Regions from separate parts of the Homo sapiens genome. Here regions 1 and 2 are each linked to region 3. Evidence: promoter capture Hi-C in 16 types of primary human blood cells and fetal thymus (Javierre and others, 2016). All regions are on one chromosome and are shown on one strand. Each heading gives the region's core, a stretch centred on a gene start or on the middle of the fragment in contact. The rest is flanking DNA. Distances are from core to core; before and after follow the strand shown. Region 1 overlaps CDK15 (cyclin dependent kinase 15). Region 2 overlaps CDK15 (cyclin dependent kinase 15). Region 3 holds the start of KIAA2012-AS1 (KIAA2012 antisense RNA 1).

What was found. The method cuts DNA at HindIII sites, captures the fragments that hold promoters and counts their contacts. A CHiCAGO score of 5 or more calls a contact.
Region 1: a fragment that was not itself captured here is called in contact with the fragment with the promoter of KIAA2012-AS1 in region 3 in 4 of 17 cell types (megakaryocytes, erythroblasts, endothelial precursors and 1 more); the score reaches 7.6 in megakaryocytes.
Region 2: a contact is called between a fragment that was not itself captured here and the fragment with the promoter of KIAA2012-AS1 in region 3, in 1 of 17 cell types (megakaryocytes). The highest score is 6.7, in megakaryocytes.

Annotation. Positions count from the first base shown.
Region 1 is chr2:201,836,038-201,839,637 of GRCh38, forward strand. All of the region lies in intron 8 of CDK15 (cyclin dependent kinase 15), which reads left to right. Among named protein-coding and RNA genes, the nearest start is that of CDK15, 31 kb to the left of the region's middle. The HindIII fragment of the contact is 1,033 bases long and covers 790-1,822 here.
Region 2 is chr2:201,818,117-201,821,601 of GRCh38, forward strand. All of the region lies in intron 4 of CDK15 (cyclin dependent kinase 15), which reads left to right. Among named protein-coding and RNA genes, the nearest start is that of CDK15, 13 kb to the left of the region's middle. The HindIII fragment of the contact is 4,348 bases long and covers 1-3,485 here.
Region 3 is chr2:202,115,685-202,119,056 of GRCh38, forward strand. KIAA2012-AS1 (KIAA2012 antisense RNA 1) reads right to left here and starts at 1,374. Exons shown (of 4, transcript NR_135244.1): 1 at 1,203-1,374; 2 at 1-220. The region is part of intron 11 of KIAA2012; the gene reads left to right. The HindIII fragment of the contact is 4,910 bases long and covers 1-3,372 here.

The DNA of each region.
Region 1 (3,600 bases), core at 56-2,555, 280 kb before region 3:
TATATATATTTATATATATATTATATATATTTATATTTATATATATTTATATATTTATATATATTTATATATTTATATATATTATATATTTTATATATTTATATATTATATATATTTTATATATTTATATATTTATATATTATATATATTTTTTTATATATATATATATGTATTTTTTTTTTTTGAGATGGAGTCTCACTCTATTGCCCAGGCTGGAGTGCAGTGGCACGATCTCAGCTCACTGCAACCTCCACCTCCCAGATTCAAGCAATTCTCCTGCCTCAGCCTTCTGAGTAGCTCTACTAAAAAAATACTAATATTTGTAGAAGATTCTTGCAATTATTCTATAACCTTTTACTGTTGAACTGAGACCCACAGAGTTCCTGCCCAAGGCATCTTCTGAATCTGACACTCTTTTTATGTTATTTTATTTTTTGAGATTGGGGTCTTGCTATATTGTCCAGGCTGGTCTTGAGCTCCCAGGCTGAAGCAGTTCTCCCACTTCAGCCTCTTGAGTAGCTGGGACTATAGGGCTGCACCACTGCACCCTGGCAATCTCATGCTCTTTCTTTCACGCCTTTCCTCCTAGCTCCTCTCTTTAATCCTTTGCCTTGTCTTCTCCTTGACACCTTATCCACAGAGAAACAAACATATATCCCCAAACCACAGACACACAGATGTGTGTGCACGTGCATGTGCATGCACACACATCTGCATGAACATACTCACACATGTCCAAACGTAGTTCAGAGCCTGGTTTAGGAAAAAAAAAAAAAAGCATAAAGACCAAGCTTCAAGACACCTGATTTTCATGCCAGTTCGATTTCTAATCAATTAACTCTGGATTCTGTTATCTTGAAAAAGTCATGTATCCTCTCTGTGTCTATGTTTCTCCATTTTTAAAAATGAAGGTAATAAACTCTCTCCATCTGAGTTAAATGGAATTGTAGTACAAATATAAGAACCAAATAGGTGGCTGGGCTTGCCGTCTCATGCCTGTAATCACAGCGCTTTGGGAGACCAAGGCTGGAGGATCGATTGCTTCAGCCCAGTTGTTTAAGATCAGCCTGGGTAGCACAGTGAGATGCTGTCTCTACATTTTTCAAAAAAATTAGTCAGGCATGATGGCTAATTAAACACTTCAGGAGGCTGAAGTAGGAGGATCTCCTGAGCCTGAGAAATTGAGGCTGCAGTGAGTTTTGATGGTACCCCTGCAATCCAGCCTGGGTTACAGAGCGAGACCCCGTCTGAAAGAAAGAAAGAAACAGAGAGAGAGAGAGAGAGAGAAAGAAAGGAAAAGAGAAGGAGAGGGAGAGGGGGAGAAAGGGAGAGGGGGAGAGAGGGGGAGAAGGGGAGAGGGGGGAGAGGTGGGGAGGGAGGGAGGGAGGGAGGAAGGGAAGGAAGGAAGGAAAGGAAGGAAGGAAGGAAGGAAGGAAGGAAGGAAGGAAGGAAGGAAGGAAGGAAGGAAGGAAGGAAAGAAGGAAAGAATCCAGATAGGTGCTATCAAGTAAAGCCACAGAGTTGGGGAGGCTCTAAGGTTAATGGGTTACAATAGTGAGCATGGGCTGTCAGACATGCATCATCCTAGAACGGCAGTGTTATTTTCTCTGGATCATGTTCCTGGAGACTTCCCAGTCATTTGGGGGCCACTGTTAGATATGTGATGACTTTACAGACGTAGACAACTCCCCAAAGGTAAGGAAATATATGAATCTCTTTCAGTACCTTGGAAGAAAGGGTTTATATAAAAACACAAAGCCCCATTTTCAAAAATCCATAATTGATTTTAAAAAATTAAATGGTGTCCTAAAAGGCTAAACTAAGCTTTTAGATCTCCCAAAGAATTAAGAAAGGTTGCAGACATTTTTCTCCAGTGTAGAGTCATTGATTTCTGATACCCAGTACAATTTATAGAAATATCATCTGCTAGTCAAAACCCTCCTGAAACTGTCAGCTCACACCGCTCAGCACTGTCACTTCAAAGGACTCCGGCAGGCTCTGGCTTACTCAGCTCTTAATGATGTCTTCCTGATTATGTTTCACAGAGTGAAACTTCTACCCGTCAATTTTAAACTAATTTTATTATGGAATAGTTAAAACATTCAAGAGTATATATAACATATATGTAGATCAGTGATTCTCAACCAGGGAGCAATTTTGCTCTGCAGGGGACATTTGGCAATGTCTGGAAACATTTTTTGTTTTCACAGCTGGGGGTGGGGTGGTGGGGGGTATCACTGGCATCTAGTGGGTAGAGACCAGGGATACTGCTAAACATCCTACAGTGCAGAGGACAGCCCCTGCAACAAAGATTTTTCCAACCCAAAACATCTGTAGTATCAAGATTAAGAAAGCCGATGTAGGTTAAGAAGCTTAATTTACTTTTAGAGACAGGGTCTCCCTTGGTTGCCCAGGCTGGAGTACAGAGGTGAGATTGTCTCACTGCAGCCTCCAACTCCTGGGTTTAAGTGATCCTCCTGCCTCAGCCTCCTGAGTAGCTGGGAATACAGGTGTGTGCCACCACACCTGGCTAATTAAAAAAAAAAAAGTGTAGAGACAGAGTCTCACTTTGTTGCCCATGCTGGTCTCAAACTCCTGGCTTCAAGAGATCCTCCTGCCTTGGCCTTCCCAACTGCTGGGATTACAGGTATAAGCCACCGTGCCCAACCAATTAAGAAGCTTAATAACGTGAACTTCATAACCTGCTACCCAGTGTAACAACTAGAACATAATCCGTACTGTCCTATCAACTGTGTCCCTTTCCCATCAACCTGCCCCTCCACTAGAAGGCCTTCTACCAAAATTTTTTTTCCTTTTTTCATCAGTATTCTCATATCTTTTTAAAAATAATCCTTTTACATTTTAGAGGTATTCTTAAAAATATTTTTTTGTTTTACTTGATTTTAAGGGTTGTTTTTTTTTGAGACGGAGTCTCGCTCGTCGCCCAGGCTGGAGTGCAGTGGTGCGATCTCAGCTCACTGCAAGCTCCGCCTCCCAGGTTCACGCCATTCTCCTGCCTCAGCCATGATGTTATATTGCTTCTAGTCTTCTGTGACTTGGCTTTGTTTCATTCAATATGTTACATGTTTCTAAGATTCATCCATGTTGATCTGTTTAGCTATACTTTATTTTCTGTTAGTGAATATTTCATTTTTTTTAATGTCTATAGCTTTGCAATAATACTTGATACCTTGTAGGCCAAGTCTCCCAGCCTATTCATCTTCTTCATGAGGATACATCAGATAAACCTAGTTTAAGGGACATTCTACAGAGTAACTGACCTGTACTTATTGGAAGTGTCAAGATTTTAAAAGATAAAGACTGAGGAACTGTTCCAGATTAAAGGAGACTCCAGAAACCTGCCAACTAAATGTAATGCATGGTCCTAGATTGGATCTTGGGGGAGATGGTGCTCTAAAGAATACTGTAGGGACTATAGGTGAAATTTCAGTAGGGACTGTGGATTAGATAGGGGTATTGGATGAATGTTAAATTTCCTGATTTTGATAATTGCACTGTTGTTATGTAAGAGGATACTTTGGTTCTCAGAAAATACCAACATAATTATTTAGGGATGAAGAGTCATGATATCTACAATTT
Region 2 (3,485 bases), core at 83-2,582, 300 kb before region 3:
CATTAATTCATGAGCACTTATTGAGCACCACATGCCAGGCCTGTGCTAGTGCTGGAGATGCAAAGACAAGGGCAAGTTCAATCCATGCCCTCAATGAGTTTACAGCCTAAAGACGACTTTGACTACCAGGCCTTCATTACATAGAGCGACATCCTAGGACTTGGAGAATCAGCTTTCCTCTGGAGCCTTAAAGACATCCCTATTTACTTTTGTGTCTTTTCTTTGAAGAAAAACAAAAATAAGTATACATAGGATACATTAATAATAAAAAAACAGTATTTTATGAGACTCAGAATGCTAATTTTAGGATCTTTGCCCTTCTCAGTTGACTTTTGTGTCCCTCAACTGTTTAGTCTGCAGGACAGATATCACATCCTGCTGTGCAGTTTATAAAATGTCCTTAAAATTAGAAGAAAGAAAGACCTTGTCTTCCTGGGTTTAAGACCCACACATCTGAGGCTGTAGGCATTTCAGATCCCTCTGGTGGATGGACCAAAATGATAAACAATACTGTGAGATAAATGCTTTAAACATCATCTGCTCTTTCATCTGAATTCCCTATTCATTATTCGGCAACATTCACAGTTTTCATATAACGATTTCAGTAGTTCTAGGGCACCAGAAAAGCAGTACTAGGAATGGCCATAAAGCATAGAATATTTATAATCTAATGAGGGAGACAACTAAAAGAAAGAAGGAATAAAAGCATCTTCAACAGAAACACCCTTTACCAACCAACTAGAGGTATAGAAATGATATTAGGTAATTAGTGACCACTAATTTAAAGATAAATATTTATTGAGTGCCAGACATTGTTCCAGGCACTGAGTATATAGCAATAAGCAAAAAAAACAAAACAAAACAAAACAAAAGTGCCCACTCTCAATGGAGTTTATATTCTCAATTGTGGAGACAGACAATAAACAAATATTTATATATAAAATGTCAGATGGTGGTGACAGGCACTATGGAAAAGAATAAAGCAGGGCCCAGAGAGAGAGGGTAGGATGGGGTAGAGGTGGGATGGGGTGGAGGGCTGCTGAGGTGGGATGGAGTAGAGGGCTGCTATCTCACCTAGAATGGTCAAGGAAGTCTGCACCTATATGTATCACTTGAGCGGAGGCTCTGAAGAAAGTGAGGGAGGATGAAGGCAGAGAGGTGAGAAGAGAGGATTACAGGAAAAGACATTGGCAAGTGTAAAATCCTGGGGTGGAAATGTGTTTGCAAGTGTGTCTAAGGAACAGCTAGGAGGCCAGTGAGGCTAAAGCCAAGTGAGCAAAGATGGGAGTGTGAGGAGATGACAGGTCACGATGGGCACAGCCAACAGTAGGGTGGGCAGGAAATCGCAAGTCCTTTGAATTTACTCTGCAGGAGATGAGAGGCCACTGGAGGGTTTGGAACCAGGAGGCACATGCCCTAACTCATTTGAGAAGGATAGCAGTGTCTGGCTGTCCTGTGAAGAAGTGGCCATAGGAGGAAAGCAGGGAAGCAGGCATTTGCAATAATTCAGCCAACATATGATAGTGGCTTGGTCCAGGGTGCTGGCAGAAGATATGGCAAGGGAGGGGTTCTGGACAATTTGGAAGGTAATGCCAATAGATTTGTATGTGATAAAAAGTTGAGAGGACTTGACGTGTACGAGTGGTTAATCTTCATAAAATGGATGAATGGTTAAAAAGATTTCCGCAAAGAAACTGTGGGTTGAAGGTAAAACTAGTAACTCCAATGTAAGTGAACAACAGAGAAATACAAAACAGACATTTTTCCTACTCCTACAAAAACTGTAATTATCAAGAAGATGACATGAAGTTTATACCCAGTATTGTTAGCAGGAAGCCTCATTCCAAGTAGATATTTTTCCTTGGCCATTTTAGCAAGTGAGAGCATGAGGCCATCATAATGAACAAATCATGCCATCATGATTTAAAAAGAAGCATCTGGAGTTTTAGTAATATAGTTAGGTGAGACTAAAATTATACTAAACATAAAATTAAAATATCTTAACAATATTCTTAGCAATTTCAGCTTTACCATATCCTTTTGAAATCTAATTTTGCTATATGCTTTGTAACATAGGGGTGGGGGAAAGAGAGAAATTTATGAGATAATTTATAAATAAAAATACACCTAAAGTATAAGCATTCTCAACTGATGGTCAGAAAATATGGAAGGTATTCAAAACTCTAGCAGAAACATACCATAAACAAGATTTTAAGACTGAAAGTAGACGTTTAGTGGGGTTCAGGGTGAAAGGCAGGGGCAAGAAGCTGGCAAGAAGAGGGAAGGGATACTAATTCTAATTTGCCTCTGTAATGCTTTACATTTACCAAGGTTCCACAAATGGTATCTGATTCCATCCTCATATCAACCCTATGAAGTAAGTCAGAAAAGACGATGTCTCTTTTCCTAAGGAATGAATTGAGACTTAGGTTGAGATACTCTCCAGAGCTTACTCAGATAGGAAGTGACAGGGCCAGGATTCATATTAGGGCTTCTGGCTCCACAGACAGTTCTCCTTAAGACTTTCAATAAATATGTTTGACAAATTAAGTGCTTACTCTCGGCTGAGTGTGGTACTAGGTGGTGTGGCAGCATCTCAAAAAGGGGGAAAGTCACTCCCTCAATTCCCATGTGGCCTTCAGTCTGAGACTAGGGAGATTAAACAGATGCCTGAGAAGCTGTTTATTACATTTACAAAGCAACACATTTGTCAAAGTGAAATAATAAATTTAGCCCATAAGGACTCTGGGGGCAAAAAGTAAAAATTAAGGCATTAGTCATTACAGCAAATAAGGTTAACAGGTGTGATGGAGCTCCTTCGGCGTAAGTCAGCTTAAATTGACAAGTAAAGAGAGAAATTCACTGGCTCACAGATCTGATAACTACAGGCTGGTAGGGCATAAGCAATATCATCAGGAAGCCGTGTCTCTCATTACCCAACACTGGTTTGCTGTGCATTCATTTTATTCCCAGGCATGTTGTCACCAGGTGTTGGTAATCTGACCCCAGCAACTCCTGGCTAAATCCCACAGGTTTAGCTCTCACAATAGAAAAGAAAGCACTTCTTTTCTAATGGCACCAGCAAAACAGGGCTCTGCCAAACTTGGGTTTTGTGCCTGTCTCTGAACCAATCACTAGGGATAGGGGAGTGCCGTGCTCTGATTGGCCAGCCCTGGGTCATATGCCCATTCTTGGGTAGAGGCCGGGTCAGTTCCACCAGATGAGCATGGTCTGAGGAAGAAGACGGTTGTTTTTCCAGGGGAAAATAGAAGTGCCCCCGCTAGAAGGGAGAATGGCTGTCAGGAGGGCAAAACGACAGATTCACTAAAATAGGTTGATGCCTAAAGAAAATAATTTTATTCCTAAATTTAAGGGAGTATTTCAGTTGTTTTTAATCTTATGGAATTCTACACTGGGAGGGAGTTGGTGCAGGAGATTCATGATATGCAGGCATAGGCTACAGAATAATGCTTTGAGTTTTTATC
Region 3 (3,372 bases), core at 124-2,623:
TGCCACAAAGGAAAGTTCTTTAGGGATCATAGTTGTTGCTGGGTTTTTTGTTTTTTGTTTTAATTAAAAAAAAAAAAAAACTCTTGAGTAAAGGAAGGAATACGATCCATCTGATCTTTCTGAGACTTCCAGGCTCTGTCAACAACTATTTGGAAATAAATTCTTAGGCAATTAGATCATGGTATCTTCTTTCAGACAGCATAGGGAAATGAATATAAACCTTCAGAAGGAAAAAAAAAAAGATGTGAAGACTAGAGCTGGAATTTGACCCTTTTGGTCATGTTGGGATATTGAACATTTAGAAAATTGAAAGTCTTGAGAAAGGAAAAGTTAACTTAGAAGGATACATGTCAAACCACTGGATATGCCCTCTGAATTGCTTATCCTTGATTCAAATCCTTCATCTACTCCCCTAGTCACAGTGCCAGCAATAGAAGTTTTCTCTCAGAAGTTCTTTTATTCAGAAGTTTGTTTTACAAAGAAGTTCAAGGATGTTTATGCCAATGATTCAGGTTGGGCATCAAGTCCCATGTAAATTTAAATTCCTGGTCTCTTTCAGAGTTTCTGTTTAGTATTTGTTCTTGTTCTAAATGGATTTTTACCCTCAAAATGTTTCTTGGGTGTTTTTTGTTTTTTTAGACAGGGTCTTGCTCTGTCGCACAGGCTAGAGTACAGTGGTGCAATCATGGCTCACTGAAGCCTCAAACTCCTGGGTTCAAGCTATCCTCCCACCTCAGCCTCCAAATAGCTGGGGCTACAGGCACGAGCCACCATGCCCGGCTTTTTTTTTTTTTTTTTTTTTTTTGAGATGGGGTCTCCCTGTGTTGCCCAGGCTGGTCTCAAACTCCTGGCCTCAAGCAATCCTCCCACCTAGGTCTCTCAAAACACTGGGATACAGGCATGAGCCACTGCACCCAGCCTTTCTTGTTTGTTTGTTGTTGTTATTTGTCATTTAATTAGCATCCTTCCCCCTTGCAACTCTTTCTTGGTGTGGTGGTTTTAAAATACATCCACAAATTCTTTGACACTTCCCCCTTCAAAAGGGAGAAACTAACTCTTCTCCCCTTGAGTGTGAGTGGGATATGATGGCTCACTTCTAAATAAAGATAGACTATGGCAGAATTGATGGTATGTGACTTCTGAGACTGGGGTCATAAAAGGCACCAAGGCTTCCTCCTTGCTCTCTCTCTCGGATTACTCACTCTGGGGAAAGCCAACCACCATGTCTGTGATGAGGCCACTCAAGCAGCCTATGGCAAGCAGTCCACATGGCAAGGAACAGAAGCCCCTTGCCAACAGCCAGAATGAACTTCCTAGGCTTGTGTGGGAGTTGCCTTGAGAGGAGGTTCTCCAGCCCCAGTCAAGTCTTCAGATGACTGCATCCCTGGCTGACACTCTGTCTGTGACCTCACAAAAGGCTGCACCAGAACCACACACCTAAGCCACTCCAAGATTCCCACAGAAACTGAGGCATAACAAAGGTTTATTGTTTTAGGTTTCAGGATCATTTATTTTGCAGTAATAGATAACTAGTATTCTAGATAACTAGTATTCTTGGTGTCATTTTGTGATGGTCTGTGATTTGGTTGACAGAAAGATGAGTCTAAGAATATCCCAGCTGGTCTGAAAACACTGATCATTTAGGGGTAAACATAGGCTAAGTGACTGTTCTCCCATTTTTCCTTTGTGATAAGTTGGTTGTGGGACCCCACGGGTAAAAGAATCCTTCCATGTTGGTGGGGTACTGTTTAAAGTATGATTTTCCTTAAGTAGCCCATCTCTTAGTAGCTGTTACCTTACTGATGATGCCGAGAGATGTAAGGGAGGACAATTAATTTTGATAAGGCCATGTGAGGAAGAAGAAAAAACTCTGGTTTTATTCCCACCTGTACTGCCCAGGATTTCTGTGATCACAGGCAAATAACTTCATTGCCTTGGACCTCAGCTTCCTCATATGGAAAAAGAGGAGTTGGTATTAGATCCAGTCCTCACAGCACATGTCCCGTCGAACTCCAATTCCTCAGAAGGTTAACAGGCATTGTGTAAAAAAGGAAAGGTTCTAGGGCCAGATACATTTGGAAACCAGTGGACCAAAGTTAAGCAGATCCCTTACCGCAGGACTTCCTAGAGCCTCCGATATGCTGATGTGCACCGTGGTTCTTCAGGATGGGGATATGCACTGTTTCCCAAACTTATTTGATCACTGAATCCCTTTGTTTTTGGTAAAGCATCATGTGGATCTAAAAAGTTTTTGGCAAACTTTGGAAAATGCTAAACTGATGATTTCTAAGGTTCTCCTAACATGGCATGTTTCTAAATATGCCCCTTTCCCCAAGGAGATTCTCTCGGTGGAGCAGTTCTTGTGTCTAAATCCTGAAACAGGATTTCAGCCATTAATCATTTGTGACTATTATTATTTTTATTCTCTAAACATCAGTTCTGAATCATAGAGTCCACAATCCATCCATCTCTGGATAGGAAGAAATACAGGAAGATAGGAGCCCCACGTGGTTATAGTGTACACTGCCCCTTGTGCCTTTTCAGTGTTTTTCATAACCCTCATGAGAAATAATGTTGGCAGGTGTTACCAGTACTAGTGATCTCTGGTCAAATGTTTGAGTAAAGGAAAATGTGGCTGGATATGGTCTCTGGGCACCCAGCATTTCCTTCCAGTGGGTGTTCCTGTACTACAGAGGCTAGAAGGCTAAAAACTACATTTCCCAGATAATCTTTGCAGCTAGGGAGCTGGATGCAAATTATTTTCTGCCAATTAGATGTGCTTGCATGAGATTTGGAGAGCAGAAGTGAGGCAGAAGCATCAAAGCTCTGGGCACTGAGCTCATGAAGACTGAGCATGATAAGAGGCAGTTACTGTATAGTAACTCTGTTTCTTCTTAAAAATATTTGGGCAGTTTCTGTTCTGGGCTGAACCCTGACTAAAAAGCTCTCCTTACAAAAATTACAGGAGATTCCCATCAGGCTTGGCATGGCGCTAAGTTAGGTCTATCACACGTACCACAGTGTTGAGAGATTGTAGAAGGGCAGGCTGTGATAGCTGCATTTGTCCCAGCCTTCAGAAGGAAGCAGTGTTCTTTCCCTCACTGTAGTGAGACCAGTAAGGCCTCACAGCCCACTCTGGAAGGTGTCCTGATAGCCACCAGTAGGGAGCTACTAAAACACAGTAGGGACTCTCCTTCATTTCCTTTGACAGAAACCTCTTGTGATTCCTAGAAACATAAAGACTTCCCTACCTCATATGTAGCTGAAAAGGTGGCATCATCACCACTTTATGGCTTCCGAAGAAGAAACATGTCAAGAATAATAGCTTGCGGCCAGGCGCGATGGCTCATGACTGTAATCCACTTTGGGAGG